Linked DNA regions of Homo sapiens: region 2 is linked to region 1. The links are contacts of gene promoters, found by promoter capture Hi-C in blood cells and fetal thymus (Javierre and others, 2016). All regions are on one chromosome and are shown on one strand. The core of a region is centred on a gene start or on the middle of the fragment in contact, and the rest is flanking DNA. Distances in the headings are between cores, read along the strand shown.

Region 1 (6,359 bases), core at 1,446-3,945:
AGAGATGAAGGAAGCAAATTATATTATAGAATATCAATTAAAATAGAATCAATTGGAAGTCACAAGTGATTAATACAATTAATTAACACATATAGCACTATGTGCCAGGCGCAATTTGAAGCACTTTACATAATTAGCTCATTTAATATTCTCAACAACCATTATAATATGATGATACCATTTTCATTCCCAATTTGCAGCTGAGGCAACTAAGGCCCAGATAGATTAAGAAACGCGTCCAAGTTCATACAGGTAATGATTCTAGTACATATTAATCCAGATGAATCTAATTCACAAAATTTCAACAATACTAATAAATATTGAGAATTTAGAAGCATAATTCCATTAGGATATGAAAAATCTTAATAGAGAAATTTCACTTAGTAAATAATGCTATTTGGACTTTTTACCTTGAGGATACCAAATTACATGCATAAATGTACAAGTTTCCTTAGAGATAAAGACTAGTGCAAGTAAAGTTTAAATTTTGCCCTTGACAGCAAAAGTAGATATACTTGTGCATTAATATTGATCAGTCATTATCAATTGACCAGGCACAATTTGGTGAATATGTTAATTTTTCCCAACAGCCATGAGCATGCAAATACAGGCTGAGTGTCTGAAATGCTTGAGACCAGAACTGTTTTGCATTTCTGATTTTCTTCAGATTTTGGAATATTTGTCTTATACTTACCTCTTCAGCATCTCTAATCTGGAAATCTGAAATCCAAAATGTTCTTATGAGCAGTTCATTCAAATATCATGTAACTGCTCAAAAAGTTTTGGATTTTGGAAGATTTCAGATTTCAGGTTTTCAAATTAGGGATATTCAATCTGTATATAAAAAATATGAGAGCCAGATACGGTGGCTCACACCTGTAATCCCAGCACTTTGGGAGGCCGAGGTGGGTGGATCACTTGAGGTCAGGAGTTCAAGACCAACCTGGCCAACATGGCAAAATCTCATCTCTACTAAAAACACAAAAATTAGCTGGGCGTGGTGGTGCGCGCCTGTAATCCCAGTTACCCGGGAGGCTGAGGCAAGAGAATTGCTTGAACCTGGGAGGTTGGAGGTTGCAGTGAGCTGAGATTGGGCCACCGTACTCTAGCCTGGGCGACAGAGTGAGACTGCGTCTCAAACTAACAAACCGAACCACGAGATTATTTTTCCCAGTTTTCAATTGTGTCCTGAACTCTCTATCTTAAACAATGCATAGGTATGAAAATAACAACTGGTACATTGATTTTAATAGGGGAGAATTTATTTGGAAAGCAAGAATGTTTATTGTAAACTGTGCCTCTTTCTGGAAATATTTACAATTTTCAAAGAAGTGGCCTTAGCAAAACTGTTAGTACAGCCCTTGATTTGCAGGTGAAAAAAAAGCAGTGCATAGACATTAACCTAAATTCAAGTTAGGATTAAGGTCAACATTAAGGGGTAAGCAGGACATAGCACAGTGACTAAGTGCATAGGAGCATTTATTAGCTGAGTGATCTTGAACAAGTTATTTAACTTCTCTCTAAGTCTCACTTTCCTCATCACAAAAGGAAGAAATATTTCATAAGGTTGTTGTGGAAACTGAGGTAATATATAGACAGTACTTTGCACAATACCAGACACCCAGTAAGGGCTCAAGAAATGGTATTGTTGTTATCCTTATCTTTAACAAGTGATTCACAACCAGTTAGTGTCAGAACAGGATGCAAAGCACTTTTGGAGTATCTGTTGCTATAAACCGAGTTCCTTATCCTTTGCATCTATCTGGGTCTAAGGAGGCAAGATCACATAGCATTAACATTTTCCACAAATGTGGTGTGATCCATCGCCTTTCCTCTTCTTTCACCCCTAGAGTAAGCCTTCAGCCTCTTAGGAAGTGTTTTCCATCAGAATTTAGCTTTGAAGTTGAACATTTTAAACTCTGTTGGGAAGGTTCAGACGCACATTGACAAAGAAGATAAACAAAGAGTCAGGAAATCTAAACGGGGAAGATGCCATGGCTCACATTACCTGCTTCCTCCTAGTTGGAGTTGAGCTCTTCCTGGAAGCGGGGCAGAGTCTGCCATTTGATTAAACAATTCAACATCAAAGCTGAACAAAAACATATAATCAATCTGATCTTAATTCAAGTGTGCCTACCCCTCCTTGTGAAAAGCAGCCTTGTTTTAAAAAATATTTCCCTAGCAGATCAGGTATTTTTGAACAACTCCCTATCGTTTCTGCTTCACTTCCATCTCAAGTTCTGGTTCACATAACTAGCCAACATTTACTGAGGGCCCATTAAGTGGCCAGGCATTGTGCCAAGTGCTTTGTTTATGCTTTCTCATTTAATTGTCACAACAACCCTTAGAGGTATTTTCTCATCCCCATTTTACAGATGAGATGGAGGCTGGGGAGAGTAAGTCACTTGTCCAGGGTTACACTATTAAGAGCTGAGCGATTAAAACCAAACAGCAGTGGGGACAGGCCCTCAGGAGACATTTCTACTCCTGGCTTGGTCACTGCTCAGATACGTCACATGTCTTCTAGGCCTCAGTTTCCCGGCTTGGAGAGGATGCAGCCTCTCTAGAAGTTCCCTTCCACAGCCTGCGGCAGCTTCCCAGGGCGGGCGGGCTGCTTTGTTTCCACACTCAGCTGCTGTGGCTGGGGCCTCCCTGGGCTCTGCCCTGTTTTGTTTTTGCTGCTGGACCTGCTACAGACGCAACCCTGGCAGCGCAGCCCGGAGCACAGCCGAGGCTTCCTCTTTCTCTCAGTTCCTGGCTGCTTCAGTATGAACAGAAAAGGTGGGCAGGGGCCAACTGGCAGGAGCCTCCGAAATAGCAGCACATGATCCTCCTACCAGCAGCAGAAAGGCCAGCCCGCAAGACCTCGCCGCCTGCCCAGCTCTGTCATTGACTAAGGTTGCTTTTGTCAGTACAGCCGCCAGGGGTTTCCACGCTCATTCCCCTCCGGACAAGGTGGACAGCTTTGGTGATAGACAACTGGGAGGTAAAACTCCACAGAGCCATGCCAGCGACTGACCGCCCAGGGACAGGAGATGGAGACGTTCAGCTGCAAAGGCTACGGAGGAACCCCCGCAATTGGAATCTCTCCATGCCTTCTGCAGCATGGAAACATACTCCGGGACCTACCGGGGCTCTCTCGGGCCACCTCTGAGTGCAAGGGAAAAGAGTGCAGTTCAAGGAAGGGAATGTGTCTGTCATCCCACCACTTGCGCGCAAGGCCAGTTCCGGGATCAGCAGGCTTCCTTCACCAGCACGGGCTCTTCATTAGCAACCACTGGGAGGGAATGTGTGCGGAGTCAGTGAGTGAAGCTCTCCTTCAGCAATTTCTCTCCTCCTCTCATATTTCTCCCCTCTCTCTCTCTCTTTCTCCCTCCCTCCCTCCCTCCCTCCTTCGCTCCCTCTGGGTCCAGGACAATACTCAGGCCAGGACAGTTCCAGTCATAACTGGATCTTTCCATTACTTGGTAGCACACAGGAGGATTTGTTGGAGTGGTTTTTTGTTTTGTTTTGTTCTGCTACTATTAAGCAAGATTGCTTCATAATCCTTTAAGGGTTTTTTTTAGCCAAGTCTTATTTACATATCCTGGCCAGCAAGCACGTGATTAACCCAAGGATGTTGGAGGGAAGGCAGATGCTACATCTGAAAAAAATCTGATTATGTTTCATTCTGGAGATACAAACAGCCGAGCTGTCAAAAGGACAACAGTCTCTTGGGCCAACATGACACCAAACTCTCAAACTCTGGAGACCCTCAGAGACAAGGAGGAGGAGCTGCTGAGGTAGGGGCACAGATGCGAGGAGTTCTTCTCCCTCTCTCCTTCTCTTTCACTATCTCCACTTTGGGGGCAAAGTGTCAGGATAGCCAGAGGTACACATAATCTAATACATGGAAATGGTGGTAAACTGCCTGTCAATTCACCGCACCACCATAATATGTCTAAAATGTGGTGCCTGTCTACAACTTACATGCCACCCAGAAAACAAGCTGCACTGGCATTTCTGCATTGACAGAAAGGACATTTGAAAATTTTCCCTACAGGCATTATTTCAACTGATATTTACGAGTGGTTTTATGGGATAGAATCGTGCCAGTCATATCAAGGAACTTTTCATATCTTTCAACCCATGCTAAGATAAATAGAGCCAGTTATGATTATTCTCATTTCTTGAAAGGTACCTAATGATCCACCAGAAAGTTAAATGAATCCTCACTTATCAGAGGAATTTTTTTTTTAAGTAAAAGAAACCTAAACCCCAAGACCTAGACTCCTGGAATAAGAATCTCTTTACCAGTGAAAATTCTTAAACATTAAATAAGCATTTACCGGGAGATATCGATGAGGTCTTAACTGTACATTGTCTGATTCTGAGGCAAAACATACAAATACAAACACTGAACTAGTACTTCTAACTCATCCTTCCATGCTACCTGCTGTGTGACCTTAAGCAAGTCATTTATCTTCCCTAAGTATACATTTTGTTATCTTTAATATACAGGGACTGTGTTTGAGGTCTCTAATTTCCCATATAGCTCTAAAATGAAATATTTGTTTAATGAAAGAATCTATTAACATTGTCAACAGCAGTTTTTATTTTAATCTTTAAATACAAAGGGCAACACGTGTTTCATGGCACAAAAATCCTTCATTGCCATAACCTCTGAGAGAAATATTTTTGCAAAGTTTTCTTGCTCTTCTTGGGAAAAAACAATCATGCCATTAGGTTCTGTGAGTGAGGAGATGCCAGTGATACAGGATGAGGGATAGAGGTTTTATTTATTTGCTTTGACCTGAAATGCTTTCAAAGTGCTAGGATTTTCCCCGTGAAAAATGCTTTGCTTCTAATATTATCTCCAGTGATCAAGAGTTAGTGTCAAAGGTTTGTGAATGGATTTCAGAATGTGCAAGTGGCACCTCCCATCGTTAGCTGTCTACATTTTTTTATAACCACTTGCATACTTTTGGTCAACCACTGTAAAATAAACAGTCCTTCTCAAATGTTTTTGTTTTCTTTGACAGCACAGCAATAATTCACTTGGAATGCTGCAGAATAGAATAGCACTTTAATGCTGTTGTAAGGATGGCTTTTATGATTTCTATTCATCGAGTTGTTTTTAAGTTAAAAGATACCAGACTGAAAAGAACATAAATCCCTGTGGAGATATGTTATGCTTAGATCTTTGCACCCTGTTCCCACCCAAGGATATATACATAGAATATATGTATAAACACACATCCACATATGCATAAATATATGTGTACATATACGCTCAATATAGACATTTAACACAACATTCACCTAAAGTGTTTACTGTTTTTGTTTTTGTACTTTTGTTTTAAATTTGAGAAGTATAGCATCTAGATTATAGTAGAGTTTTGTGTTCATGCAAATGAAGATGTAAATTAATGTTTATTCCTACCTAGAAAAGTTTCAGGAAAAAAATGTCATAACACACTTTTGCTTACTTGGTACATACTCTTGTTCTCTTTTTTCTGGCCATGCACTTACTAAATATGAAGTTTAGAAGAAAAAAACTTTATATATAGTTTGTTTCAAATTTGATATATTTTAGTTAAAAGTGCTTTATTGCCAGGCATGGTGGCTCACACCTGTAATCCCAGCACTTTGCGGGGGCCAAGGTGGGTGGATTGCTTGAGCCCAGGAATTCGAGACCAGCCTGGGCAACATGGCGAAGCCCCATCACTACCAAAAAAAAAAAAAAAATAGCTGGTATGGTGGCACATGCCTGTAGTCCCAGCTACTTGGGAGGCTGAGAAGGGAGGACCACCAGAGCCTGGGAAATCAAGGCAGCAGTGAGCCGTGATCATGCCACTGCACTCCCGCCTGGGCGACAGAGCTAGACACTGTCTCAAAAATAAAAAAAAGTCTTTATTTTTTTTCTTTCAGGGGAATGGTTGATTACTGTCTCAGATGTACATACCAGAATTAAGTTTATACCTATGTGTCAAAAATGGAAGGATGAAAATTGACTTGAGAAACTGCACAGTTTCTGTGCAACATTATATAGGATATCTTTACAAAGGACAACATTCGAAGCAAGAAATTGGAGCTTAGGCAGTATTACACTTTCTATCTTACCTATACTACTCTCTGAGAAACCCATTTCTAGCCTGTACAGCATAGCTTGTAAACTGTGATCTTCGACTAGTATGAATAAGTCTTGTGTTGAGTTTAATTTCAGAGGCCGGGAGTTTATCAGCTGAGCCATCTCACCTGCATTCCTTGCAAGTCATTAGAGCCTTAGATGCCTGGCTTGGCTTTGGGCTTCTCCAGCAGAGAGCAGTGAAACACTGTCAATAAACCTAATTCTGGAAACCAGAGTAGATTCCAAGTTG
Region 2 (6,359 bases), core at 971-3,470, 1.0 Mb after region 1:
ACAGAAATCACTTAGAGGTCCTCCCAGCCCCGTCTACCACATCCCTTCCCATGTGTTCCCCAGGGAGGGGCAGAGTCATGTGACTGAAGACAGCAGAAACTGAATTCAACCGAAGAGCCTGGAATACCAATGCGCTCTTCTTTAAAGAGGAAGGGACCACAGGGTGATGATACAAAAAGGAACATCTGACCCCTCATTCCTAATCAGAGCCTGGACTCCCTAATTTTTTTTTTTACAGAGAGCTCTTGGCTCTGAGTAGCAACCTCTGAGTTACTGTACTTAGAAAAATCTTTGCAGATTTAAAAAAAATAATACAACAAACACTATGACCATATGGATTATCATCTGTCAGCCTCTGAGAGGTAGGAAAAGAACACACTGCATATTATGAAGTGAGATCCAGCAGAATGACAGAAGTGATAAAAAGGTAGTGAGAATGCAGTGAAATCACAGCTATCCAGCATCTAGCCCTACAGGTGAAAAACCACTCCTGTGTCCTCAATGGACTTCGAAAGCCAATTGAAAACTGAAAAGCACCAAAAGCTTTGTCCTCAGCTAGGTGCCGTGGTTCATGCCTGTAATTCCAGCATTTTGGGAGGCCAAGGCAGGAGGATCACTTGAGGCCAGGAGTTCGAGACCAGCCTGGCCAACATGGTGAAACCCTGTCTCTACTAAAAATACAAAAATTAGCCAGGTGTGATGGTGCATGCCTGTAGTCCCAGCTACTTGGGAGGCTGAGGCAGGAGATTGCTTGAACCCGGAAGGTGAAGGTTGCAGTGAGCTGACATTGCGCCACTGCATTCCAGCCTGGGCAATACAGTGAGACTCCTTCTCAAAACAAACGAACAAAAAAGCTTTGTTCTCCTAGAAGGCACTGTCGATGGCATTATCATTGACCACCTGCGGCTATGACCAGACTCCTATTTCCAATGCAGCATTCAACACACATGGTCCCAGGATGGCAGCTGCAGACAGAAATTGTAGGGAGAAGGCCTCTCCCTCTGTGTGCGAGTTTCCTTCTTCCTTGATGTCCATGTCATCTGGCTGAACTAATTTCCACCCTTCTCTACTGTTGTCATTTACCACTGGTCATACCCCAGTATCAACTAAAAATGTTGATAACTGTCTCCTCTTCACCACATTCCTGCCACCTCCCCAATTATTTGACTGTCACTGTGATTGGCCCTCCATTACATTCTCATAGTTCCTCAACCTCTCCAGTTCCATCCTAAACATTATCACCCAGCTCTACCTTATGTGAAAATATTTAATTCTAATACTCCTCATTTTGGCTCTTCTAGCTCTCAGGCTCTCAGTCTAACTATATGTGGTAATGAACCACAGAGACTTCTGGCTCCTTGTTCCTCAGGCTCCTCACAACCCCTCATGTGTCTTCGGCTCACTGACACCCCTACCCTGCCAGATGCATGGCTGACCGCTTAGATCACTCCCTCACAGGCATCCCTGTCTCTTTGTCACACATTGCTAGTAAAGCCCCAACCTAGGGTCCATGATCTACATTCTCTTTTCTGAAACTGAGCCCTTTAAATTCATGACCTCCCATTTCACTGGGTCCTCAATGCCAAACAATCTTTTCATTTCCCTTTCTCGCTCCCTTCAGTGACCTAACTAAATCTTCATTACTTTCTTTAACCTCTCATTTACTCCCAATCCCCACCAAACAACTTTCCCCCAATTACTCCATGAAAACAAAAGCTATCAGATCTGAAAGGCCTCTATTTCCCATCCTCCCTAACTTCGGAAGCTGATACCTCAACCACCATACTCACCACCTTCCACTAAGTCTCAGAAGCTAAGGTCTTTTTGCCTCTAGTTCAAGTTCAATCTCTCCACCTGTGCTGCTAATCCTATCATATACCATCTCATCTAAAACCATGCTACTCAAACCATGGTTTCTGATATGGTTTGGCCATATCCCCACCCAAATCTCATCTTGTAGCTCCCATAATTCCCACGTGTTGTAGGAGGGACCCAGTAAGAGATAATTGAATCATGGGGGTAGGTCTTTCCCGTGCTGTTCTCATGATAGTGCAGAAGTCTCACAAGATCTGATAGTTTTAAAAATGGGAGTTTCCCTGCACAAGTTCTCTTTGCCTGCTGCCATCCACGTAAGATGTGACTTGTTCCTCCTTGCCTTCCACCATGATTGTGAGGCCTCCCCAGCCATGTGAAACTGTAAGTCCATTAAGCCTCTTATAAATTGCCTAGTCTCAGGTATGTCTTTATTTGCAGTGTGAAAACAGACTAATACAGTCCCCATGCAGCAGCACCAGCAGTGCCTACGGGCTTGTTAGAAACATATAATTTCAGCTCCATTCCAAACCTACTGAAACAGAGTGAATATTTTAGCAGATCCCCAAATGATCTGTATGCACACTAAATTTCAAGAACCAAAGCTCTAGAGCTTTGCCTTTGAGCAGCAATCTCTCCCTTAAAGAGAACCACCATCAACCATGATCTGAAGAAGGGGTCAGCAAACTTTTCCTGTAAAGGACCAGACTGTAAATATTTTAGCCACTGTAGTGTGAAAGGAGCCTTAGACAACCTGTAAACAAATGGGCATGCCTGTGTTCCAATAAAACTGTATTTACAGGCCAGGTGCGGTGGCCCACTCCTGTAATCCCAGCACTTTGGGAGGCCAAGGTGGGCAGATCACCTGAGGTCAGAAGTTCAAGACCAGCCTGGCCAACATGGTGAAATCCCGTCTCTACTAAAAATACAAGAATCAGCCAGGCATGGTGGTGCATGCCTGTAATCCCAGCTACTTGGGAGGCCGAGGCACAAGAATTGCTTGAACTTGGGAAGTGGAGGTTACAGTGAGCTGAGATTGCACCACTGCACTCCAGCCTGAATGACAGAGTAAGACTCCATCTCAAAACAAACAAACAAACAAAAAACTGTATTTACAAAAACAGGTAGTGAGCAGGATTTGGCCTACAGACCACAGTTTGCTGATCCCTGATGAAGGTACAAACCACTGGGCCGATTTAGCACCCTGAGCAATTGTTTACCGTCACACCCAAAGACTTGTACAGTGTAGTTAAAAAGGGACTGTACAAAGAATCAGAACACCTGTGTTCTAGCCCTGGCCTGACCACTCACTATAGCTATATAACCCTGGACAATTGCTAAGCCTTCCTGAATCACCATTTCCTCACTATTTGGAAGAAGATGGGACTATCTGTCCTTGCCTTCCTCATAGATTTGTTTTAAGGACAAAATGAGGAAATGTATGTGCCAATGTTTTTGAAACTTAAAGTGAAATTGTTCAGTTATTTTGTGACTGGTTTCTTAATGACTCAGGATAAAGTGAGAATCATCAAGAAGTCAACTATTCTTCTCTGATAAATGGAAGGTAAATTCAGTTTTTGTGCAGGATCAGTCACATGCTCACATGCCACTTTAAAAACATGTCAAATTTATATTTCAGTTAATTCTGGACAGGCACCATTTTCATTAAGATATTCACTTCAAGCAAGAAAAAACAACTCCCAAATCAGCATATATTAAACAATAAAGCAGACTGTTCACTGGGATTTTTGGAATTAAAAAGAAAAAAGCTTGGCAATCCTTGGAAAAGAGCATTTCCAATTGCATTATAATTGTGTTCTTCTTAGTATATTCCCAAGATACTTGCCATCAGCAAGGCACAGGTTTTTAATGTTTTTTTTCCCAGTTTCTCTGATACAACATCTGTTATAATATCACCTAAATGACTAGTATACAGCTTAATTTACTAGTGCACAGATGATTCTATATTCAGATGCATAAAATTTATGCTCCAAAATTTCTCAAGTCCAAGGATTGCATGGCTTTGCAACATTTTAATCATTTGTAAACCCTTCTCCACAGCACACACAGTAGAGACGTGTTTAATACCATCAACTGCCTGGTCCTTGGGGCCTAAAAAGAACCTGCAGTCTTTTTCTTCTTTAGAGCCTGATAAAATAAAATTTAAAATGAGATGCTAAATATGCTATTATGTCATGCCAGCTGTGTTGATGGATACTGAGCTACAGTTAGTAATTCCAAGGCCTTCCTAGGATTATTTGTTCTTCATTTTACAAGTTGAGATAGAGCTGAAATTGATTCAAATGAAGAATCACATTACCTGCCCTGATGTACACCTGATGAACCTGCTGCTGTTGCTTCTTTTTAATTCGAGAGTACTGCCGCTTCAGTGCATTGATATCTGTGGTCATGCGTTCCATCATCATACTGTTAAAAGCTGCATGGTATTCACTTCGACAGGAATTGATTGCTCCTGGACTCAGCTCTGCAATGTTATTAGATCTCAGACTCTGCTCCTCATTTGGCTCTGCGCTCGAAGGATGAGACATAAGGAGATGGTCGGTGGAGGGGAACAGGAGTAAATGGAAATTGATAACACTACAACTCAGTGCGGTATCTTAACCTCCATGAAATTCTAAACCACAGAAAAAAACGCATACTAGAGTTTGTCTAGTGCTTATTTTGATGTGCCCCTGAAAATATTTCTGCATTTTCTTATTAACCTAACTGTGGGTCTGACATGAGCTATATGGGTTCAGAGTTTGATTTTGTTACCAGTTTGTTAGCTATATAGACATAACATCAACTGCTTCCAGATGAAAATCACTGCCATTGTCTAAGATTTCCTTAGAAAGATATAACTCCTAATTTCTAAAATCACTGTACAGATTTCCACACAACGGCATGAGGATTTATACAGAATTGGTTTGTAGAGTTTAGACAGTCATTAAAAGTGCATTCTTCTTACATTAAAGGTAGTAACACAATTTATAAAATTATCAAGACTTCAGACCACTGTATCACTAGAATGAATGCTTTGTTCATTTAACAAACATTTCCTGTCCACTCTGTTGTTATATCGGATGTGGTGTCTGCTCCTGTGATAGCTACAACTAGCAGATTTGTCTCTTAAATAAAATTGAGATGACCTCCAAAAAAGAGAAACAATACTAGGTGGGAGTAACCCACAGACTACACAGGCCAAAGCGGGAGACAGCAAGCTTCTCCAGCACAATTTGTAAAACTGACATGGGAGCCAGAGTCAAAAAAAGACTGAGAGACTCCAACTATCCTAACATCTGCTGAGAGTGTTATTCAGACAAAGGCTAAACATCTCAGAAATTCATTTTTTTACTGTAATCATTTCTGTAAGGAGAAGAAAATTAAAAGAGAAACTGCTAATCAGAGCAAAATCAACAAGAAAGACTAATGATGAAATTTAGGAGAAAGTGATCATGTCATCCTAGAGCACAAAAATGCACAGAAAGAAAAACAGAGAAAAAAAAATGAAACATAGACCCAGGCTACAGAAACGCAGATTCAAAAACTTTACCATTAAAATACATATTGATCCTATGGCTAGAAATCAAAAGCTGGAACTCAGGCAATAAGAAAGGGGGTAGAAGGCATTGCAGAAATCAAGAAGACTCTTGTTGGGTTCAGATTTTTAAAAAGCCTTTAAAAGGATGACAGAAGAGCACATACCAAAGACATACTCACAAAACAGTATGAGCCCAGCCATTAAAAAGGTTAAAACTCAAACAAGCTGAGGCTTGCAGGAAATACTCCAAAAGATCACCACCAAAAGTTAGAAGTAGCAGCAGCTGCTGCCACTGCTCCTATCTTCCAAATAAGAACCAAAAAAAGAGAAGATAGCCCCATGACTTCAAGAAGGTAGTAAAAAGTTAGCAGATGGCAAAGAGAACACAGAGGTGCCTGACATCTATTCAGTTTCTGTCCTCTTTCAGCATATTTCTAATATCTTTGAACAAGGAGAATGGTCTTCAAACTAGAAGAGGTAGAATAAATATCCTAAAAGAAAAGCTTCCACCCAAGACAAGAAAGGACGTAGAGAACCACAAACTTTAAAACAGTGCATAACATTGATAATTCCAGACCACAGAATTCTATTCTGTTTAGAAAAAAAAAAATGAAATAAAACATGCATGTGATTCAGAGCACAACATTTTAAGGGGAACATTACCAAATTACAGGATATCTAGAGGTAAATTAATAGAATATTAGGAGGTCCAGAAGTCATAACTTAAGAGACATGCTTAAAGAAATTCTGAACTGGGGCCTTTGAGAAAGCTTTGGAGGACATGATAGCTGTCCTCAAAGATTTGAAGAGATGTCAGGTAGAAGAGGGAGTAAGTAGACTTGTTCTGGTTTTTTCCAAAGGGAAGAATCCTCTTTTCCAGCTGGAACCATGGAGGGTGTCGAAGAGAAGAAAAAGAAGGTTCCTGCTATGCCAGAAGCCCTTAAGAAAAAGCAAAGGAATTTTGCAGAGCTGAAGATCAAGCACCTGAGAAAGAAGTTTGCCGAAA

What was found. Contacts are between HindIII fragments. The CHiCAGO score rates a contact against its expected background, and 5 or more counts as called.
Region 2: a fragment that was not itself captured here is called in contact with the fragment with the promoter of HMGA2-AS1 in region 1 in 1 of 17 cell types (naive CD4 T cells); the score reaches 6.0 in naive CD4 T cells.

Annotation. Positions count from the first base shown.
Region 1 is chr12:65,878,661-65,885,019 of GRCh38, reverse strand. It overlaps HMGA2-AS1 (HMGA2 antisense RNA 1), which reads left to right and starts at 2,695. Exons shown (of 3, transcript NR_158985.1): 1 at 2,695-3,302. The region is part of intron 3 of HMGA2 (high mobility group AT-hook 2); the gene reads right to left. The HindIII fragment of the contact is 6,963 bases long and covers 1-6,359 here.
Region 2 is chr12:64,868,582-64,874,940 of GRCh38, reverse strand. TBC1D30 (TBC1 domain family member 30) reads right to left here. Exons shown (of 12, transcript NM_015279.2): 11 at 4,133-4,339. It also overlaps the pseudogene RPL7P39. Among named protein-coding and RNA genes, the nearest start is that of LINC02389, 12 kb to the left of the region's middle. RefSeq lists enhancers at 1,995-2,094, 2,125-2,204. The HindIII fragment of the contact is 2,727 bases long and covers 857-3,583 here.